Linked DNA regions of Homo sapiens: regions 1, 3, 4, 5, 6 and 7 are each linked to region 2. The links are contacts of gene promoters, found by promoter capture Hi-C in blood cells and fetal thymus (Javierre and others, 2016). All regions are on one chromosome and are shown on one strand. The core of a region is centred on a gene start or on the middle of the fragment in contact, and the rest is flanking DNA. Distances in the headings are between cores, read along the strand shown. Region 1 overlaps LOC107984606 (a long non-coding RNA gene). Region 2 holds the start of EFNB2 (ephrin B2). Region 3 has its middle 720 kb from the start of DAOA. Region 4 has its middle 910 kb from the start of DAOA. Region 5 has its middle 930 kb from the start of DAOA. Region 6 overlaps LOC105370343 (a long non-coding RNA gene). Region 7 overlaps LOC107984608 (a long non-coding RNA gene).

Region 1 (2,979 bases), core at 272-2,771, 1.7 Mb after region 2:
AAAGGTGCTCTTTCCACGTTCATTCTCTTTCTGCTACATGAAAACGGTTTTCCTACCACTATCGTGCTTTCCACTTCACTGAACCCAAATCAGTTAATATCATGGGAAACTCATTTACCTAAATGTGATGTGTGCTAGAATCCCTCAATTTGGATTTAGATTTATTGTGAAACAATTTGCTTTCAGGGGAATAAAAAGTCAAATTTACTAGAACTGTGGAAAATACCAGCAGCTAAGGTGGGATGCCACAATGCCACATATTTACAATATGAAAGGCAACATTAAGTCCTCTGCAATTCCACATAAATACAAGCATTGTCCAAGGAATAACAAGCAAGAGGGAGGAAGGTGGGCCCTGCCTTAGCAAGATCCGGGAGAGGAGCAGGCCGCTGTGCCTCAGGCCCATCCCTTCTGTAGTTCATCTAATCTGCTCACTTTATTGTCCCAGTGGTTTCTGGAACAAGAACATGGCAAGCCTACAATTTCTGAGGCACAGAATTGTGTTGAGAATGGGTGGTGATAAAAGTCAGCAGATGGATATTTAAATCAGCACATCATGCAAATGACAGAAGTAGGAGATGAGGCAAAGCGAAATACCAGGACTTCAGATAGGAGCTGTGACAAGTTAAGCAGAAATAAGCCAAGAAAAAGAGAAAACAAATGTATGTAAGTGGGAACAGGTTAGGGAGAGGTAGGTAAAAAGGACACACAAGATGTTTCATTCCAGTTTAATTGCACAAGAGCTCCTGTCTCTGGATGAGATGATTCTCCCACTGTGGTTCATAAACCAAATCATAATAATGTTAGCTAAGAATGCTACCTGACACCTACAAATCAGACCCTTTTACGGTAATCCTTTCTGTCTCCTGGTTAGTCAATTGTCTGAATGAAGATGTGGCCCTTCCATTTCCTTCTGTTTGGTAAGACAGCTGTGTTCCTGCCTGATTCTTTGGCCAGCCAGCCTCTGCTCCTTGACTGAACCCTCCTGTTCAGCTTTGTTCTGCTAGTGGCTCCCTGTACCACAAATTTAGCCAATCCTTATTGCTTACCAGTTTCTCCTTCACACTGGATTCATCAGCTCTTTTGATGAGTGGACACATTTCATTAAATTATCAAAAACTATATAAAACTTATTACTATCTACTACTATAATATACACTCATATAATGGCATTTCATATTACATACATTGCAGTATTATGTAAGCATATGTTATAAAGTTTGGTCATCAATATCCAGCAGCATTTTATTGCAAAAAAATGCAGCTAGCAACCTTGTTCAAAATCCCCCGGCCTCTGATACGCGAGAAAGATCCAAGATAAAAAGAGAAAGAAAGGATAAAGACGAAGGTGGAGTTGAAGCTGCAGAAGGCAGTTTCTCAGGAAGGTGGGCTTCAGCCCTCCACTCCCTGTCGCGTACTTCCCTTACTTTTATGTTCCAGCATGGAGTGTCTTCACCAAAGGGCATCTGAGAAAAAGTCCTTGGCCTTAAATACCTGGACCATTCCAATTTCTGTTCATATTTCTAACCAATGTCTCTCTAAGGAAAATTCCCGAACCAAGAATCAGCTTTTCATACACCCTCCCCCACCCTCACTTGCCCCTACGTATGGTTTTTCCTTTCCTTTTCCTCATATTTTTTTGCAGACACCTCTGTCATGATCCTTGAAGGATTTATAATAATCATATACTTACCTGTAGGTTTTTCCAATTTATAGTTAATTTCCAAGCACCTGTCAAAAGGAAGCCCTCCTTGAAAGTTTACTGATTGAATAAACACATAAAATGAACTAACAAATCGAAAACACAGTATACCATTTTCTAATATTCTGACTCCTAATAACAAACAAGTTAAAAGTGTTGTATATCTTAAAATTGAACCGATGTGTTGTAATATATGTATATGTAACAACAACCAGTGTTGTTTTAAGTCCATATAGGTTCAAAACCACAGAAGCTGTAGAGGGCAACCGAATTGTAAAATGTCAATAAACAAGCACAATTAAGCAAAAAGAAATCATTTTGCCTCCCTGTAAAGCACTGGTATGTTTTATCTCTAAACAGAGAAAATTGCCTTAAATTGGTTTCATTTGTTTAAGCAGTGGAAATTCTCTCTCTGTTTCTCTCTCTCTCTCTCTCTCTTTCTCTTAAACAAAGTTTGCACAGAGTCCCCAATATACAGTAAAGGGTAATAAACATAGTTGGTATCCTATATACTTGTTCTTCTCATGTCCTGCCCTTCGGAGGTCCTTGACACCATACAGTAGAGGACAAAGACTCTGCATAGCACAATTTGGAAATAACCATCTGATGATCCCTAAGGTCTTTACTGGTTCTACACTGCTTTTAGTCAATAAAACTGAGAAGTTTTTTTTAAAAAAATAGGCAAATGTTCACTTTTTGGTATATACCATTACCTGATCTGTATTTCCAATGTTCTAAATAGTTTAGGGGATTTTATTGCAATAATACTGGTAACTATGTAAGTAGTAAATCCATTTTTCTTAGTTTATCTATGACCACACAAGTCTACCTGTCAGACCAGAGCTGTAACATTGTACAGCTAATCACCCACTAACAGCTTCCAAGAATAGATAAAATTTGTGAAAGAAGTAAAATGATATTCTAGAGTATGTCCTAAAACATTATCTCATCCTTGTATAAAATATTTAGCCATACTGGAACTAAACAGAAATTACAGTATCACTAAAATATTATAAATATTATAAGGCATTTCCCATTGTATTCTAAGCTAATTTCAGACTTCACGTGCAAAGCTAGTCTATAACAGTGCTTATATCAAAGTTGCTGGGTGTGTGCATTAATTTTTATAGCTATTCACCTTGCACTTTCATTATTTGAAACACGACACAATATGTCTGTGAAACAGAGTCAAGTTTTGCATGCATAACCCCTTGCAATATGTAAAATCATCATACTTTGAAGCTCATAGGGTTAGTGTTGGTAACTTAAGAAGAAAT
Region 2 (3,187 bases), core at 605-3,104:
GTTCCTTAAATGGTATTTTAGCATACTAAAAACTAGCCCTTTCTCACCCTTGTCAAGGTAGGAGTCATAGTGCCTGCTGCTTCCTGGGTTGTTGGTGCTTCCTGGGAATCCGCTGTTCAAATCGTCATACCGTGGTGGAGCCTTTTTAAAATAAATTTTATATATATATGTGTGTGTGTGCATATATATATGTGTATATATATACGTATATATGTGTGTGTATATATATACGTACATATGTGTATATATGTATAAATATGTGTATATGTGTGTATACGTATATGTGTGTATATATATATTTAGTTTGAAGGCTTATTTAAAATGAAAATAAATTATGAAACTTTTCTGCTCTCAAAGATCTGTTTGGAAGAGTAAGTGTATTCAGTACTTTGTATGCCTTAATGTGTTTTCTATCTTAAACTAGTCTTCACAAGCTTTTACCACTCCAACTGAGATGTATACGTTAAGTTAGACTAATGTTTCAAAAACGGATACTTAAAAGCAACGTACCATAAAAATCTTCAGAAATTGTTACAAAGAAGAGTGAAAGAAAACAAGGTGTTTTACCATATGCATTTTTAAATTTAGCGTAGTGGATACTTTGTTTTAAAAATACATAATTTGTAGAATTACTGCCCAGTTTGTGTTTGAAACATAAATCCTGGGGTGGACGGCATTAAATTGAAAAAAAACGTGGGCATACAGTATATTTTAATTTTTCATACTGAATCGTACATTTGCACTGTGCCTTATTTCTACCGTGTTCTTCCTACTGTTGGACATATAAAAAGATTTTCCTTGGAACTGTGACTTGATTAGATGCTGCAGTATGCTGGATCCGGGTCGGTGGACCGCAGAGCGCTCGAGATGCGGAGAAGCAAAGCTGGCCGCTAGTGGGCGCTGTGGCTCCGTGGAAGTCACGGACGAGCGTCAGCACCGGCGCTCGACCGGGAAAGTAGCGAGGAGTTCCTGCCAGCTCTGCTCTGGGGTCTTGCAGACGCCGAGTGAGAAGCACATGCCTTGACTTTTCCATCTCACACCCTCTAAATCTCTGGTCACTTTGGGAAGCGCGCGTGTCTCCTAGAGGCTAGTGAGACGGTCCCCGCGTCGTGCCTGTGCCGGCGACACGCGGGGAAAGCTCCAGGGGCGCCACCTTCCCGGGGGGCCAGGAGGGAAGGGAGACGCCCGCAGAGAAGGCGGGAGGCGACGATGCTCAGGCCCTGATTAGAGCTGCAAATTCCGGCGCCGCGTCGCAGGAATCGTCTTGCAATTCCCGGCCCCACTGACTGAAACTGAGCCGTAGGCGATTGGTACCAAAATCAAGTGAGAAGCCCTCGCCGAGAGGCGTCGGGAGAAGCGCGCAGAAGCCGGGAGCTCTAAGGGTGCGCGCGGAGTGCAAGTCTTGCACGCGGGGCAGCGCCGCATCTGCGGAGAAGGGACGCCGAGCGGAGCCTGCTGCCTTCCGCACTGCTCGAGGGAAAGCCGCGCCCTCTGATTCCGCCGAGGGGGAAGGCGCCCCCGGGCGCGGAGACAGGTGGCCCGCTACTCGGCCGTCGCTGTTTCCACGTCTGCACCGCGCCCAGAAGGCCTCTCGCCGCCCCGGGGGCGCCCTGTGCACGCGCTGAGCGCTTCTCCTGCCCGGCTTCTGCTCCGCTCCCGCCGCCCGCGGGAGCCAGGGGCGGGGCTCACCTGTCAGCCCGAGCCCCGCCTCGCGGCACCCAATGTCGGGAGGGGATGGCGGACGGACGGACCGGCCGTCCAACCAGCGCGCGGCCGCGGAGCCGCGGGCCAATGGGCTTCGCGCGGCGGGGCGGGGCCCCGCGTTTATAGCGCTCTGACAGCGCGGCGGCCGCGCTGACTCTCCTCGGCGGGGACCGCGGCGCCGGCCGGAGCGAGGAGCTGCGCACGCAGCGGGTCCCGGCGCCCTCCCCGCACACAAAGGCCCGCGCGCGTCCGGAGCCCGCGGCGGGGACCGAGCTCCCTCTTTCCTGCCCTGGGGGCCGGGAGCCGCGCGGACTGAGAAGGCTCCTGCGCGCCCGGAGGCGCCCTACTCCGCTCCGTGCTCCGGGACATGGAACCGCGCCGACGCGGCGCCCGCGCGCTCGGGCCGCTGCCCGCTGCACTGGATCTATAGTCACAGGCGGCCCCGCTCGGGGCGCAGCGCCCGCCGCCCGCGCCGGTCGTCTCCGCTCCGGGTCTTTGTGTCCCAGCCCGCACCCGCCCCGCGCCCACCCGCCAGCCGCGGCCGGCCCGGCACCCTGGAGCCGCACGGGAGTCGGCCGTCCGAGCTGCGTCCGGCGCGGCGCCCCGGAACCCCGAGTCCGCCGCGCCGCCGCGCCCCGCGCGTGCGCTCCCGCCCCGCGCCCTGAGGGCCCCGGAGAGCGAGCGCACCTGGCCCGGCGACCGCTGGAGCTGCGCAGCGCGCCTCGGAGCTGCCTGCGGGCGCACGCCGTCTTCCCCGCCAGTCTGCCCCGGAGGATTGGGGGTCCCAGCCTGCGTCCCGTCAGTCCCTTCTTGGCCCGGAGTGCGCGGAGCTGGGAGTGGCTTCGCCATGGCTGTGAGAAGGGACTCCGTGTGGAAGTACTGCTGGGGTGTTTTGATGGTTTTATGCAGAACTGCGATTTCCAAATCGATAGTTTTAGAGCCTATCTATTGGAATTCCTCGAACTCCAAGTAAGTGGCGTCCGCGATCCCCCTATGTCCCCGCCCCGGGGTCCGCCGCGCCGTCCGGGCGGGAGGAGGGGTCAGTCCGCGGGGCCTCGGAGCCTGTTTCTGGAACCTCGGTTCCCCGTCCCCCACCCCCAACCCCCGCCCCATTTCACTAGGTGGAGACTCCTCGCTCGGCTTTCCAACCCGAGCCCCGCTGGAACGGACGGTCTCTCCGCCTTTCCTCCCCCGAACGCTCCCAGGCGCTAAAAGCTACTATCGGCTCGGGTGTCAAGTCCGGGAAGGTGTCCGATGGCGATACCTGACCCTCTCCTGTTTTCGAGGACGAAGGACATGGCCACAATCTAGGCTGGCCGGCACGCGGGGACTGGTGGGCTCTGGAGAGAGGCGGAGATGCTGCATTCGCGGGGAGCGCGGGCGGCGTGGTCCGGGGCCCGCGGGCGGGCGACCGGGGTGGCAGGACGCTGGCAGCGAAGCGCGTTCTGGAGAGGGGAGCCTGGAGTCGCTACGCTGCCCGCAG
Region 3 (2,948 bases), core at 401-2,900, 1.8 Mb after region 2:
ACCAGACCATATCTTTTAGAGGAAGTAGAGAGAACTCCAGAAATAGCGTTGACTCTTAGACATCTCCAGTGCAAGCTTTACACAAATATTCTTTTCCAGTCTCGCAGTTAATTTTTCAAGTGTAGACATATCAGTTACTTTTTTACCAATTTTTTCTCTGGTGATGAGTACTGTCACTGTTTTTTTCTGCTTATATTACATGTCTATCTCATATGTGTATATAGTTTGGCTTTCTTTTAAAATTTACCTGTCTATATTATTATTTTCTTTAGAACATTAGGAAATAACTAGGTATCCACAACACTGCAAAGAATGTTTGACAAATATTTTTAAAAATGAGAAATAAATTATCTGCACATTTGTTTTCTTTGTCTCTGTTTACAGTATTTTGACTCAAAGCTTTGCTACTGTCTTGTCAATTATCATAATTCGGAGAAGATTTTTTCCCTGATAAATTGTATAAAATACTGCACGTTCACAGATATTGAAGAAATTATCATAATATAAAGAAGATTGATCATTGAGTAAGAAAAAGTACATTCTCAAGGTGTCTTATTGAACTTGATGCATCTCATCACTGAAAACACCAATAATCAAAACATTCAACATCTTATGATAAAAAGTTTCATCTAACTAAAATAAAACTATTGTAAGTAAATTACTCTGAAATGAGAATAAGCATGTAAAAATAAGACCATAGAGTGTATATACTAAGCAACATTTTCAAAATATTTAGCAAATTCAAAAAAAACTACTACAATACATTATTTCTAAGTGGGCTCTCCTATGAGAAACATTTTATGTAAGAAAACTTACTCTTTTCTTTAATCTCAGAGATCTGAGTTTCCCACATTAACTAGTTTCCACAATAGGATCAGAGTCCAAGGCAAACCATATTTTTTCTTATTACTTTTTTTTCACAATATATACTCCTCTCAACTCTTGATATATATATTTTATTGAAAGGGCAAAATCCTCACTGTGTTGTCTGGTGGAAAAGAATCAAGTTAGCCAACTCTACACATAATGTTATCTAATAAGATAACTAGCTAGAGAAATAGCAATATCTAAACATTCAATTTTTTAAATGACTTGTATGGACTTTCAGTTGTTCCCCATTTTTCTTTAACAGTTATTTATATTAAGAGTACATTTTAAACCAGGAAAAATAAATAAATAAATGTGTATTAAGAATACTGTACCCTATATGCAGTGATGGAAAAATAGAATTTCATGATAATGTTATGGATTGAGAGTACTGTGTAATTGGCTAGCAGCATTACTAACTATTTTGTTTCACAGGTAGGATTCAGACTCCTTCTAGGTTAATCTTTGCACTTCCTGCACATGACCTCACTGATCAAGCATGCTAGCAGTGCTCACACAGTAAGAATCTTAGCTCCGCCAGTGCCTGCCATGGTGATGAAGAAATGCAGAACACCCACATTAGGGATTGATCAGAGTACACCAAGCTGTCCTAAGCTGAACTAAATAGGATGAGACTCCCATATTTTACTTAAATGGAAAACTATTATCACAATGTTAAGAAAAGTTATTTTGGCCAGGCACAGTGGCTCACACCTGTAATCCCAGCAGTTTGAGAAGCCGAGGCGGGCGGATCACTAGGTCAGGAGTTGGAGACCAGTCTGGCCCACATAGTGAAACCCTGTCTCTACTAAAAATACAAAAAATTAGCCGGGTGTGGTGGTGTGTGCCTGTAGTCCCAGCTACTCAGGAGGCTGAGGCAGGAGAATCGCGTGAACCCAGGAGGCGGAGGTTGCAGTGAGCCCAGATCGTGCCACTGCACTCCAGCCCATGTAACAGTGAGAGACTCTGTCTCAAAAAAAAAAAAAAAAAAAAATTACTTTATTTTCTTTCATTTTTGTTACTTTTTTTTTTTTTTTGCAAAGCACTAGGCACTCAGAGAGAATTAGTAAATACTAAGCTCCCAAAGTACAAACAAATCAACTTAGAGGGACAGCCATAAATGCAATTTGTACTTTAAATATTTGAAATGATAATACAATGCTTTGAAGAGAGGACATTGGTATTTTGAAATCAAGTCCAAAAATTTTAGTGATACTATCATTAATAAGGAATACATATTCATATTAAAATATTGTTTTACTATTAGTCCTTATATTCACTGTAATAAATAGCAGATTTGTAAGCAGTTTTCTATGTTCATAGAGACTATGCCAGTAAAGATTGATGAGAATTCAGGGGTACATCATTAAAAAGGAGATAATGGAAGATAAGACGAAAGGCCAAAGAATCCAATGACATTAGCTCTTGTCATCTTGCACTATGTATTCTAGTATAGAATTAAACTAAAATTAATGATCAAGTGTACATTAAACTAGTGGAAGTTAAACATGTTAGTGTGGGTGATGATCTAAGTAAAGAAGCGTATAGAGTCAAATGGAATGAGCCAAGAAAAATTAATTAGATGACATCAACTATATGGTGGTTGTGAAGAAGGTTATGAAAAAAGGTAGAAAAAGAACAGAGGGATTTCCAGGTAAAAGGAACGGCATAGAGCATATTCTCGCTTTTTTCACTCAATCTGTCTCCATAATTTTACTCTTTAAAGAAAGGCTTCTTGGATAAAATTAAAAATTGGGGTAAGATAAGTGGTTTAACTTTTTTAAACAAATAGACACTAAGATTCATGACAAATAGTACATCAGGTAAGATGAAAGACATTTAAATATTGATCAAAATCACTTCACACACATATTGACATAACCAAAGCCATTTTCCTGACAATATTTGGATAATTCATTCAAAATGTATTATACATATCTCTGTTTATTATAGTGATATAATATAAATCTTTTCAGGTGGTTACATTTTATATTTGATGTCACTCATAAAAAATGTCTCTGGGAGGCAAGCTTTGGCATCACAAGGCTATGCTAAGAGAAATAAGGCAATTTATACAATGA
Region 4 (2,940 bases), core at 122-2,621, 2.0 Mb after region 2:
GAGGCAACAGATGCTGGGGTCTACTTGATGGTGGAGGGTGGGAGGAGAGAGAGGAAGAGAAAAGATAACTATTGGGTACTCAGCTCAACTCCTGGGTGATAAAATAATCTGTACAACTAACCCTTGTGACATGAGTTTGCCTCTGTTACAAACCTTCACATGTACCCACAAAACTAAAATAAAAGTTAAAAAATATAACAAAAAGATTACATTCATAAATATGATGAATTTATTTATAAAACTATCTGAGCTTCTTCAAATTGCAGATTTCTAGGTTAAAAAAGTGTGCTAGAGAAATAAGCAAATATACTAAATTTCTATAATTACTTTTATTCTCTAAATCAATATTTAAATACAAATGTATAGAAGCAGTGAGTATTATAGGAAAATAATTTTCAAATCTTCATTTTCTGTCTTGAACAAATTCAATAAACATATTATACTGTAGTATGTAGCAGACAAAATTATTCAAATGCCTCTTATTCACTTAAATAATCTGCTTACAAAGAAGAGGTATGAGTTCTCCTTAAATTAAATAATATTTGGAAATGTACACTAGAAAATAATTGTCTGTTGATTGATTTTTAAATTGTTATTAAAATCTCCAGGATATTTTAGCTGCAAAACATACATCTCACCAAATAATAACAGTAGTTACACAGAGAATAAGAATGAGTGACTTCTTAAAAATTAAAATGTATCTTGTTTGTATCAACGTTGCTATGCATATAATTCCTATTTTGTCTTACAAAACCAGCTTAGTTTCTTTAATGAAATTGATACAATTTGGATTTCCATTGGGAAGGATATTTTTCCTCTATATTTTTAATTTTTTATAAAAAGAGAAATAACAGTTTTTAATATATATCTCTCTATCCAATATTTTAGATATACACGCACACACACACACACACACACACACACACACAATTTGCCTTAATTATAGCTTACAGATTCAATTCCAGCTGTGGCCCAGCTGAATTTGAAGCAATGTGTGATTTTGTTAGATTATAATTGGCATTTCCATTTCATAAAGCCTAATATCAACATACCTGGTTCCCCATGGATGCTTTTAGTGAAAAATGAAACTAGCAGATAGAAGTCATTACGTAGATTCCACATCAAATATTTTTGTCTTTTTATATCTAAAGAGTATATGATTTCAACACTTTTAAAGAAGAACTTTTATACTGATCTCTATATAAACTTCAATAAAGCCTATGTGTCATCGACTCAGAGAATGAAAAACGTGTATAATGTGGGATACGATGTCTTGTTAAACTTTTAACAAATTAAATATCATGAATTTTCAAAAAATCAATTATTTGTCAGCTATAGAATACTTCTAATACTCATTAAGAGCCTAAATGTGTACCCTTTAAAAATATTCAATTCATAGTAACAACGAATATTTACAGAGTGCTTGCAATTGGCCAGGTCTTGTTCCATGAGTGGCTAGATGTGATGTCATTTCTTCTTCATAGACATTTTCTGAGGTAGTATTTTTTTTTTTAGTCACAGTTCTTGTTCAGTGGAAGAAGAAACTGAGACATGGGTAGGTGAAGTAACTTGTGCCAAGTTACACAAATGATAACTGAATTGGGCTTAGCTGACAACCCATTTGGAACTGCCAAAGAAACCCTTAACCATTTTACCTTGGCAACTTCTCATAAGGCAGAAATTTTCCAACAATATCTTGAGAGTCAAATCCCCATTATTTATAGGTTTGGTAACTGTGAATAACAATAAGTAGTTAAGAATGCTTGTTCCAAAAAGGTAGACATCAAATGCATGTAAGTAGAAAAAAAGACATGAATTATTTATTCACACAGCATTCAACTTTTATTGAACAAATTTGACAAATGAGATTCACTTGAAATGGAGTGGGGAGAGACAGACCGTGTTCAATGAATCAATCCATGATAAGTGCAATATAGAAAATAAAGGAAGGAAGCATGAGTGAGAAAGTCCTTACGGGTGGGATAGTGGCGAAATGGTAATCGCTCAGACAGGGAACTTTGTGACATGCTGCCATCTGAGTGTAGACCCGAGAAAGAGCAAAGCACCAAGGCTGGGGGCCCATGAGCAGGGGATGTTTAGTGCACTTGAGGAGTGGCTGCAAGAGGAAAAGGTCTGGAGCAGAGTGAGAAAAGACAGGTGTGATGGGGTTGGAGTCAGAGAGAAGAGCTGGACCAGATCACATGTACCTTGTAGAGTTTGGCTAAGAGAAAAGGCAAGCTGGGAAGGGGTGGCCTAGGCTTCAGGTTGGAAAATGACCATTCTGGTTGCTGTGCGTAGGCTGGGTGGGGCTGAGGGAAGAGCAAAGAGGACAAGGGCAGGAAAGCCCAGCTGGGAGCCAACACAGAGGGAAGGAAGCATAGGAGCCACGACACATTGAGATGTAGAATGCAAAGTCTTCATGGCACGCGACAGTTTTCAAAGTGCTTTCATATCCTGCACAACCAGCAGTCTCGTGAAAAGGAGAAGAAATGTTTCATCACCAGGAGCAGATCCATCTTTAAAAGTGCTGACCAAAACACTAAATAGGTCTGATTCAGTGGAAATATTGTGCAAATACAAAAAGCAAATACTGTCTGTATCCATTGCAACAGCTAGCTGGTGTTTCATTTACACTGGAGGGGAAATATAAGGGAGTAGAGGTATCTCTGTTTCTCAAGGCTCAATCTCTACAGTCAGAGGGTCAGGGCCCAGGGAACATGGTGCCTACATATTGAGAACTCCTACTACAGAGCACACTTTGTTTATGTCTTAGTAGATAGCAGGTTGGTTGTTCTGTGGCCTCCTAAGCATATGAGGAGATCAAGACTCCTAGGCTTTCCCCCAGGCAAAAACATGGACAGGAATATGTAGCTTGCACTTTCACAGAGAAGTGAAAGTACAAAATCAAAGTGTATTTTGCCAAGACATGAGGTTTTATTT
Region 5 (2,899 bases), core at 397-2,896, 2.0 Mb after region 2:
AAAAAAAAGCTTCCTCACATTTGAACTTGTAGTTGTTACAATGACAAAAAGTAATGTCCTCAAGCCAAAAGGAGCCTCACTGTTTTGGTTAAGGTTTAAAGAGCTTTACAACAGTGATCTGAGGCATAGCACCCTCAGAAACAATTCCTACCTGAGGCGGAGCTGCACTATGTCAGACTGTGGTATGGCATTTTACAATTATGCTGTCCTGTGCATGACACAAAGGATGAAATAGGATGAGATCTAACTGTGATCAGAAGCACCCTAGATGCATTAGCCCCATTCTTTCAGCCATGAACATATGTGAGGGCTTCTTAAGACTCTGGTTAGAGACCACAGATGTGCATGCAGGTGAAGGGAGGACTTTGTCCTCATAAATTCCACACGTTACGTACTTTTTTCCCCCCCAAAAATATGAGGGAGACATAAACATAAATAATATTTGAAAACTAATAGTCTTCAATATCCCCAAAGGTTATTTTCAATTGAATGCTTTTTTAGAGGAAACTCATATGTTTGCTTTCAAGTATATTTCACAAAAACGAATATAAAGTTGTTTTATGTAGTAGATGATAATTTTACATCTCTAAGTAATGCCTAATTCTTCTCTTCCAACTTCTTAGGAGAGAATTAGGAATATGTATTATTATTATTTTTTTATTTTAGAATTTCATCTTATCTGTTGTATCATATTAATACAATTTAGCGTGTTTGTTAGTTTCCACTACAACAAATGGCTATATACCTATTGGCTTAAAATAACCCAGATGTATTATGTTCAGTTCTAGAGGTCAGAAGTCTGAAATGAACTTTATGTCTCTGAAATCCAGCTATCATCAGGGCAAGTTCCTTCTGGTGGCTCCAGGGAAAATATGTTCCTTGTCTTTTCCAGTCTTCCTTTTCTTATTCTTAGGGGCTCATCGTTCCAATCTCTGCCTCCTTTGTCATGTTGCTTTCTCTCCTCTGACCTCTACTCTCCCTTTTTTTTTTTTTTTTTTTTTTTTTTTTTTTTGAGACAGAGTCTCGCTGTGTCACCCAGGCTGGAGTGCAAAGGGCATGATCTTGGCTCACTGCAACCTCCGCCTCCCAGGTTCAAGCAATTCTCCTGCCTCAGCCTCCTGAGTAGCTGCAATTACAGGCATGTATCACCACACCTGGCTAATTTTTTGTATTTTTAGTAGAGACGGGGTTTCACCATGTTGGCCAGGCTGGTCTCAAACTCCTGACCTCAAATGATCCACCTGCCCCGGCTTCCCAAAGAGCTGGGATTACAGGTGTGAGTCACTATGCCAGACCCACTCTCCCTCTTAGAAGGACCTCTGTAATAACATCAGGACCACCCAAGGCAATCTAAGATCATGTCCCCATCACGGGATTGTCGACTTCATCAAATCCACAAGACCCCTTTTCACTGTGAAGTAATATAGTCACAGGTTCTTGGGATTAGAGGATGAACATCTCTGGGGAAGCTGTGTTTCTGTGTACCAAAGCATATAAACTATAAACATAAAATAGACATGATCAAATGATTCAGTTCTTCGGAGAAGGTCAGGCTCTAATCATTGGCTAATACTGAGCAACAGAGGGATAAAGTAATATTCAATTTCATTGATAAATCTATCATTATTACATATGGTGCTCTTTTAGCAGTATTTTTGAATAATAATTATTCAAAATTCAAAATAGTGATAAGAATGCTAAATATTAAATGATATCAATTCTATTACCAAATGCAAAGAATAAATTTTCTTTGTGGAAAGTTGGATTTTTGGATCTTTTAAAAGTATTGTCATGTTATCATTGCATTAATCTTCAAAATTCAACATTTATTGTCTCCCTATAGAAAGTTACAGTATACAACAAAGTGAGCTTTTATTGAAAGGAAATATTAAATTGTATATCTGTATGCATACAGGTAATACAATTATATTGCTTATCTTTCATAAGGCAGATTTGAATAGAGAATTCCAGATCCCTGGTCATGTTAACAGTAATGTAATATATAGTAGATATCCAATAATTAATTTGTTGACAGCACTTTAAAAGTGAGTGTAGGTCAAGTTTGAATCATAATAGCAGAACTAAATTTCTAGATACTATCATTTGGTGGTTATTCATAAGATTTTGAGTGATATTATTGGATTAGATTTGTATCTTTCAGTTAGATTTTATTTTTCCAAAGACCTCCACTGATCTCTTTTTATTACTAAGTAGTTAATGAAAATAAACCCAAAATTGTCACATAGTATTACAATAATTGCATCTCATACAGATTCTGGTCTTTATCACTGTGATCTCTTATTTATCAGAGTGTGTAAATGTAGTTATGCAAGAATCACGTTCATTTTAAAACACAAATCATATCATTTTACTGCATTGCTTAAAGCTCTCCTTTTTTTTTTTTTTTTTTAACCATAGCTTAAATATGTCTCTCCACATACTGGTTCTGCCCGTTGCTCAAGCCTCATCTCCCTCGAATCACCCCTTCTTTACTATCCTCCATCACACATACTACGCTGACCTCCATTGTGGTTTTCTTTTTTTTTTTTTTTTTTTTTTTTTTTTTTGTTTTGAGATGGAGTCTTGCTCTGTCACCCAGGCTGGAGTGCGGTGGCGCAATCTCGGCTCACCACAGCCTCCGCCTCCCGGTTTCAAGTGATTCTCCTGCCTCAGCCTCCTGAGTAGCTGGGATTACAGGCATGTGCCACCACACCCGGCTAAATTTTGTATTTTTAGTGGAGACGGTGTTTCTCCTTGTTGGTCAGGCTGGTCTCGAACTCCGGACCTCAGGTGATCCACCCGCCTCGGCCTCTCAAAGTGCTGGGATTACAGGTGTGAGCCAACCATGCCCAGCCCTTTGTGTTTTTCAAAAACACCAAGCCCGCGCCTGCCTAAGGAT
Region 6 (3,035 bases), core at 9-2,508, 1.6 Mb after region 2:
TTTTTTGTACTGTGAAAAACCAGATCTCTGATGACATAGAAATTTCAAATGGATGCCCAGGCTAAATTTTAGAAAGTCAATGTGGTTTTCACAGTAGATTTGTTTACATTGTTTATTTATTATTAGTTAGTTATCATTATAAATACTCTCTTGAATAAAAATTATGAAGAGGGAAAAATTCAATAGATGTAATGTCTATATTATCAAAACCCTGAAGTATTATGTACCTTACAAAGAACTCAAAAGGAAGGGATTACAAATTATCACATATTTAGTCAATGTATTTATTTAATTGTGACAAGTGAAAGAACATTAAATAAATTATATTCTGTCTTCAGGCTAAACTCATTCCAATTAAGGGTAAGCATTTTGTAAGTGCTTAACATATGTCATTGTAGTAAAAACAACTTATATAATAATACCATGGAGTTTCACCAATGGCCCTGGTGGAACTATGACTGTTGTTGGAAACATGTTGTATTTTGCCTCTGGCAAAATCATTTTCATTTGCTCCAACTGTAGTCATCCATTTATCCATTTTCTAGAGCAGTGCTACTTTGGTTGCTAATATCACTAGTCCATCAAAATGTATGAGGAACTTAAATCTTTTATCCAAAGAAAGACTACAGGGATTTTCCCCCCCAGTATACTAGCCATTTGCTTTCTTCTAATAAACAAAAGAAATGTTGATATTAAAAAATTACATTTAGTATTTTTGAATATGACAAAAATATTTTGAGCTATATTTGAGCATGAGTAATTTGTGTATTTGATAATTGTTAAACAAATTGTTATATTCTTCATAGTAAGAATATTTCAAATGTGTACTTTTACTATTACTGATTATTAAAGTAGCAACCTAATTATATAATACTGTTCCTAATTCAGCTAAATTTTTTATTAAAGAAAGCACTTTTTATTTTGTAAAGTCACATGCAAGTATATATGTATTTAATTTTTTTATTTTAACAAAAAATATAATTCTACCTTTGCAACTTATTTTCATTTACTACTATATTAGGGATATTTTTTCGGCCATATCTCTCTTTTTTTCGCTCTCTCTCAATAGGTAAATAATTATATACTTCATTTTTTTACATCTCTTAAACATTTGACTTTGACTTTTATGACTTTTAATCATAGATATTTCCAAGTTTCAGGAATCTTATATCTTTACATTTTATTTTAGAATGAGATAAACAGCTTGAAGCCAGAGTACTCACTAAGTCAGTGATGAGAAAACTGTTAGCTCTCTACAAAGTCCTGACTGACTAACACTTAGCACATCACCAAACTAACCTCAAAATTCAATCAGTATATTTACTATTGATTACCATAATGTGTGTGTGTGTCAGGGGGTGTTTTAAAATTTTCTAGTGGAAATAATTGTAAAGGACTCTGGAAAAAGTTATAGAATATCGTTGCCCTTGATGGCAAAAATATATTTTTAAATCTATTGTTTCCTAATTAATATAATAATTTTGGCAAGGTATACTAGATTCTCAATTTGTTTTGAGACTAAACACATTTATTTTACTGTCTATATGTAAGAATGATGTGGAGAAATCTGGAGGGTAGAAAATTGGCATCTCTCATTTCTGCACATGTTATAGAGCAGAGGCAATGATCATCTTTGTTGAGATTACTTTTTCAGAATGTTTTTACAGCAAAAAGCCTTGGAAGATAGAGACAGTGTTGCACTCTTTGAAGCAAAGGGAAGTTTTTTTTATTGATTAGTATAATAAAGATAATGCTGTTCTCTTAAACGTAAAAAATGTTCATAATAATAAGATGTTTCTTTTTTCTACACATTCTTCTAGGGTTCCAGGCTTTCATGGTTGGTCTGGCTGTCATCATTTCCAGACACCAAAATGAAACAGTGGAAATCCAGGTCAGAAGTTGATTTTAACAAGGTTGCCCTTCTAATTATAGGGTTGGCTGATATTTAATCACGTGGTCACACTTAGCCCGGAAAGATAGTGGTGAATGTGGTCTTAACCTGAATAGCCCTGAGGAAGGAGAGAAAAGGTTTGGATAGAGACAGGCTGAACAACCACTGATACACGGTCTTTAAAAATCCTGGGCCGGGCGCGGTGGTTCACGCCTGTAATCCCAGCACTTTGGGAGGCCGAGGCGTGTGGATCACGAGGTCAGGAGATTGAGACCATCCTGGCTAACACGGTGAAACCCCGTCTCCACTAAAAATACAAAAAATTCTCCGGGCGTGGTGGCGGGCGCCTGTAGTCCCAGCTACTCGGGAGGCTGAGGCAGGAGAATGGCGTGAACCCGGGAGGCGGAGCTTGCAGTGAGCCGAGATCGCGCCACTGCACTCCAGCCTGGGCAAAAGAGAGAGACTCCGCCTCAAAAAAAAAAAAAAAAAAGAAAAAATCCTCGGTAACAAAGAATAAAAACAAGAGAAAATTTTTAACAAAAAGAAAGACTATGTGTAATAATCTAAAACAAAATCTAAACATGATAGCCTGGGAGTTGGGTGGACACCAAAGGGAGATGTTTCAGTAAAAACTGGACAGCCAATAGGACAATGGTCTCAGGGTGAACCATTTCTATAGCCTGATGATAGGGTAGAATTTCCAGTGGGACAAGCTATGAAGGTGGAAGACAGTGAAAATGATTATCTTGACCTTGTGTAGGCCTAGGCTAATGAGTGTGTCTGTGTCTTAATTTTTCATAAAAAATTTAAAAGGTAAAAAAATTAAAAATAAGAAAAAAGCTTATAGAATAAGGATATAAAGAAAGAAAATATTATTGTACTGGTATATAATGTGTTTGTGTTTTAAGCTAAGTGTTATTACAAAAGAGTAAAAATGTTAAAAAAAACTAAGTTTATAAAGTAAAGTAGTTACAGTAAGCTAAGGGTAATTTATTATTGAAGAAAAAATATTTTCAATATGTTATTAGTCTGTTTTCATGCTGCTGATAAAGACATATCTGAGACTGGACAATTTACAAAACAAAGAGAGGTTTAATGGACTTACAGTTCCACGTGGCTGGGGAGGCCTCATAATCATGGCAGG
Region 7 (3,144 bases), core at 162-2,661, 1.7 Mb after region 2:
GTAACGATATTTCAGTCAACAGACCATGTACACAACAGTAGTCTCATAGAATATAACGAAGCTGAAAATTCCTATTGCCTAGTGATATTGTAGCCATTTTAAGGTCATAGGACAATGAATTACTCATGTTTCATGGTGGCACTGGTATAAACAAATCTATTGCACTTAAAAGTCTAGTACGTATAATTATGCACAGTATGTAATATTTGATACTGATAATAGACAATTATATTAAGGATTTATATATTAACAGTATTATACTGTTTACCTTTTAGAGTGTATTCCTTTTATTTATATAAAAAAAAAAACTGTAAAACAGCCTCAGACTGGTTCCTCAGGAGGTATTCCAGAAGAAGATACTGTTATAGGAGAGGACAGCTCCATGTGTGTTTCTGACCCTGAAGACCTTCCAGTAGGACAAGATGTGGAGGTGGAAGACCGTGACATTGATGATCCTGACCCTGTGTAGGCCTAGGCTAATGTGTGTGTTTGTGTCTTAGCTTTTAACAAAAAATGTTTATAAAGTAAGATAAAAAATTAAAATATAGAAAGCTTTATAGAATAAGAGTATAAACAAAGAAAATATTTTTATACAGTTGTACAATATGCTTGCATTTTAAGCTGCGTCATTACAAGGGCCAAAACGTTAAAAAAATTAAAAAATTTATAAAGTAAAAGTTATAGAAGCTAAGGTTAATTTATTATTGAAGATAAATTATTTTGTATAAATTAAGTGTACAGTATTTACAAAGTCTGCAGTAGTATACAGTACTGTCCTAGCCCTTCACATTCACCCACTGCTCACTCACTCACTCACCCAGAGCAACTTCCCATCCTGCAAGCTCCATTCATGATAAGTGTCCTACACAGGTGTGCCATTTTTAACCTTTTCTACCATATATTGTTTGTTACTTTTCTATGTTTACATATGTTGAGATACATATACAGTGGCCATTCTTTTACAATTGCCTCCTAGACTCAGTACAGTAACATGCTGTACAAGTTTGTAGCCTAGGAGTAATAGGCCATACCCTATAGCCTAGGTGTACTATGCTATCCCATTTAGGTTTGTGTAAGTACACTCTATGATGGTTGCAAAATTGCCTAACGACACACTTCTCAGAAGGTATCCCTGTTGTTAAGAAACACGTGATTGTACACTTTTAGAAGCTGGCAAAACTGAACACTAAATTGCCTTTTACACACTATATGCTTACATTGTAAGATGAGTAAATTTTTATGAATATCACAATAAAAATAATAATCTTGCTTAAGATGTTACAAAGAATAAAATCCCCTTCTTTTCTCGACTCAAGAACGATGTGTACCTCATTCAGATAAAGTAGCTCTCAGATCAGCTCTGCTGCAGACTATTTTTTCTTTTTCTTCTGAACCATTAAAAGTATGGCACACACATGATACATATCTCCAAAATTTTTGACATGAATATCCTACAAATAGGACATTGTTTTTATAACACAATACCATTACCACGTTGAAGAAAATTAACATTATTTCTACAACATAATCTAATATATGCTGGATAATTCTAGTTTTTTTCTTTTGTCCTGAGTCTTTCATGTCTTTTTGTTGGTTTGTTTTTTATCTAGAATTCAATAAATGTTTACACACTTATCTGGGTTGCTTATCTTTAGTTCCTTTTTTAAAAATTTTTTAATCTCAACAGCCTCTTTAGCTCTTCTCTCTATAATAGGGGAAGTTTGGATGATTCCTGTTCCAGTTTTGTTGTTAAATACACAGCAATCATATGTTGATGTGTTTCCTGGAGACCAGCTCATGTTACACATTTCATAGTAACATACCATAAGTCTTGTGGCACCGCTCACCACATATTGTCAGGAGGCATTCCATGTGTTCACATTTTAGGAGGTAATAAATTGCATGAAGGTGGTCACCATCAGATTGTTTCATAGTAAAGGAACCTATTTTACTTTGAAATTGATACTTATATTTTGGTGGAACACTTTGAGACAATTTGAGTACTCTGTTCTCCAACCACCTGTCACCCAACTGAAGATCGTTGCCTGAAGCAATTTCACACTGAAAGTTAGTTCTAAAATGAAGAGATTCCAACTGTATCATGTCTTCTTTATTTATTACCCAGCATTTTCTGTAAAATTTTCCTTCTTTCTTTTCTTCTTATATGTCTAAAACTTTTAAGTTATCCCTATAGTCATTATTTTTCATATTAAATATGTTTAACACATTACCATGTTATTCATTTCCATAAACAAATAAATGAAGCTTGCATTTTCACTTGAAAATGGAAATATTAGACCTGGAATCATGTATTTCTCCGAGTAGCAGGCTCTGGTTCATTTAGTAGAAATGAACATTGGGAAATCAAGATCTGGGCACTAGGTATGCTCTGTACTCCTGGAATCTTGCACTAGGCCCTTACAGTGGCCATATATATCACAAGTTCATAGTGATGCCTGCAGTGAAAAGCTACCTTCCAGCATACTTGCCATCAACTGAAATGCCTCCAGGGAAAAGCTACCTTCCAGCATACTTGCCATCAACTGAAATGCCTCCAGGGAAAAGCTACCTTCCAGCATACTTGCCATCAAATGAAATGCCTGCAGTGAAAAGCTACCTTCCAGCATACTTGCCATCAAATGAAATGCCTGCAGTGAAAAGCTACCTTCCAGCATACTTGCCATCAAATGAAATGCCTGCAGTGAAAAGCTACCTTCCAGCATACTTGCCATCAAATGAAATGCCTGCAGTGAAAAGCTACCTTCCAGCATACTTGCCATCAGCTGAAGCACTTGAGTTGTTTGCTACTCCCTTCTCACCAGGTCCAATAAGCATAAGCATAATATCATCCCTGAAATGCTGTAATGTTTGGTAGAGTATGAACATTTTTAAAGTTCCTGCAGGCTGCATCACGATTGAGAGCAAAAAAGTTTAAGTAGACCTGCAATAAAATACTGAAGGTGTACGGCTGCCCTGTGAAATAAAGACAAATTGCTTCTGATTATCTCCCTGAATTTTGGTAGAAAACAGATTCGTTAGGTGAATAGATGCATACAGAGTCTCGGCAAGCAGAGCAAAGATATAAGATCAAAATAACAACTGTAATTTATCAGCATCTGATTAAGTGGACAAATATCCAATTTC

What was found. Contacts are between HindIII fragments. The CHiCAGO score rates a contact against its expected background, and 5 or more counts as called.
Region 1: a contact is called between a fragment that was not itself captured here and the fragment with the promoter of EFNB2 in region 2, in 1 of 17 cell types (M2 macrophages). The highest score is 5.1, in M2 macrophages.
Region 3: a contact is called between a fragment that was not itself captured here and the fragment with the promoter of EFNB2 in region 2, in 1 of 17 cell types (M1 macrophages). The highest score is 5.6, in M1 macrophages.
Region 4: a fragment that was not itself captured here is called in contact with the fragment with the promoter of EFNB2 in region 2 in 1 of 17 cell types (fetal thymus); the score reaches 8.8 in fetal thymus.
Region 5: a fragment that was not itself captured here is called in contact with the fragment with the promoter of EFNB2 in region 2 in 1 of 17 cell types (fetal thymus); the score reaches 5.9 in fetal thymus.
Region 6: a fragment that was not itself captured here is called in contact with the fragment with the promoter of EFNB2 in region 2 in 1 of 17 cell types (fetal thymus); the score reaches 5.7 in fetal thymus.
Region 7: a fragment that was not itself captured here is called in contact with the fragment with the promoter of EFNB2 in region 2 in 1 of 17 cell types (fetal thymus); the score reaches 6.6 in fetal thymus.

The regions. Positions count from the first base shown.
Region 1 is chr13:104,792,425-104,795,403 of GRCh38, reverse strand. All of the region lies in intron 3 of LOC107984606 (a long non-coding RNA gene), which reads left to right. Among named protein-coding and RNA genes, the nearest start is that of DAOA, 670 kb to the left of the region's middle. The HindIII fragment of the contact is 3,195 bases long and covers 1-2,979 here.
Region 2 is chr13:106,534,329-106,537,515 of GRCh38, reverse strand. It overlaps EFNB2 (ephrin B2), which reads left to right and starts at 1,854. Exons shown (of 5, transcript NM_004093.4): 1 at 1,854-2,673. The coding sequence starts at 2,552. RefSeq lists an enhancer at 757-826 and a silencer at 1,407-2,066. The HindIII fragment of the contact is 2,990 bases long and covers 437-3,187 here.
Region 3 is chr13:104,749,037-104,751,984 of GRCh38, reverse strand. No RefSeq gene overlaps it. Among named protein-coding and RNA genes, the nearest start is that of DAOA, 720 kb to the left of the region's middle. The HindIII fragment of the contact is 2,498 bases long and covers 402-2,899 here.
Region 4 is chr13:104,555,847-104,558,786 of GRCh38, reverse strand. No RefSeq gene overlaps it. Among named protein-coding and RNA genes, the nearest start is that of DAOA, 910 kb to the left of the region's middle. The HindIII fragment of the contact is 6,001 bases long and covers 1-2,940 here.
Region 5 is chr13:104,535,041-104,537,939 of GRCh38, reverse strand. No RefSeq gene overlaps it. Among named protein-coding and RNA genes, the nearest start is that of DAOA, 930 kb to the left of the region's middle. The HindIII fragment of the contact is 3,270 bases long and covers 12-2,899 here.
Region 6 is chr13:104,930,173-104,933,207 of GRCh38, reverse strand. LOC105370343 (a long non-coding RNA gene) reads left to right here. Exons shown (of 3, transcript XR_001749998.1): 3 at 1,821-1,856. Among named protein-coding and RNA genes, the nearest start is that of DAOA, 530 kb to the left of the region's middle. The HindIII fragment of the contact is 2,950 bases long and covers 1-2,733 here.
Region 7 is chr13:104,878,497-104,881,640 of GRCh38, reverse strand. The region is part of intron 1 of LOC107984608 (a long non-coding RNA gene); the gene reads right to left. Among named protein-coding and RNA genes, the nearest start is that of DAOA, 590 kb to the left of the region's middle. The HindIII fragment of the contact is 1,713 bases long and covers 555-2,267 here.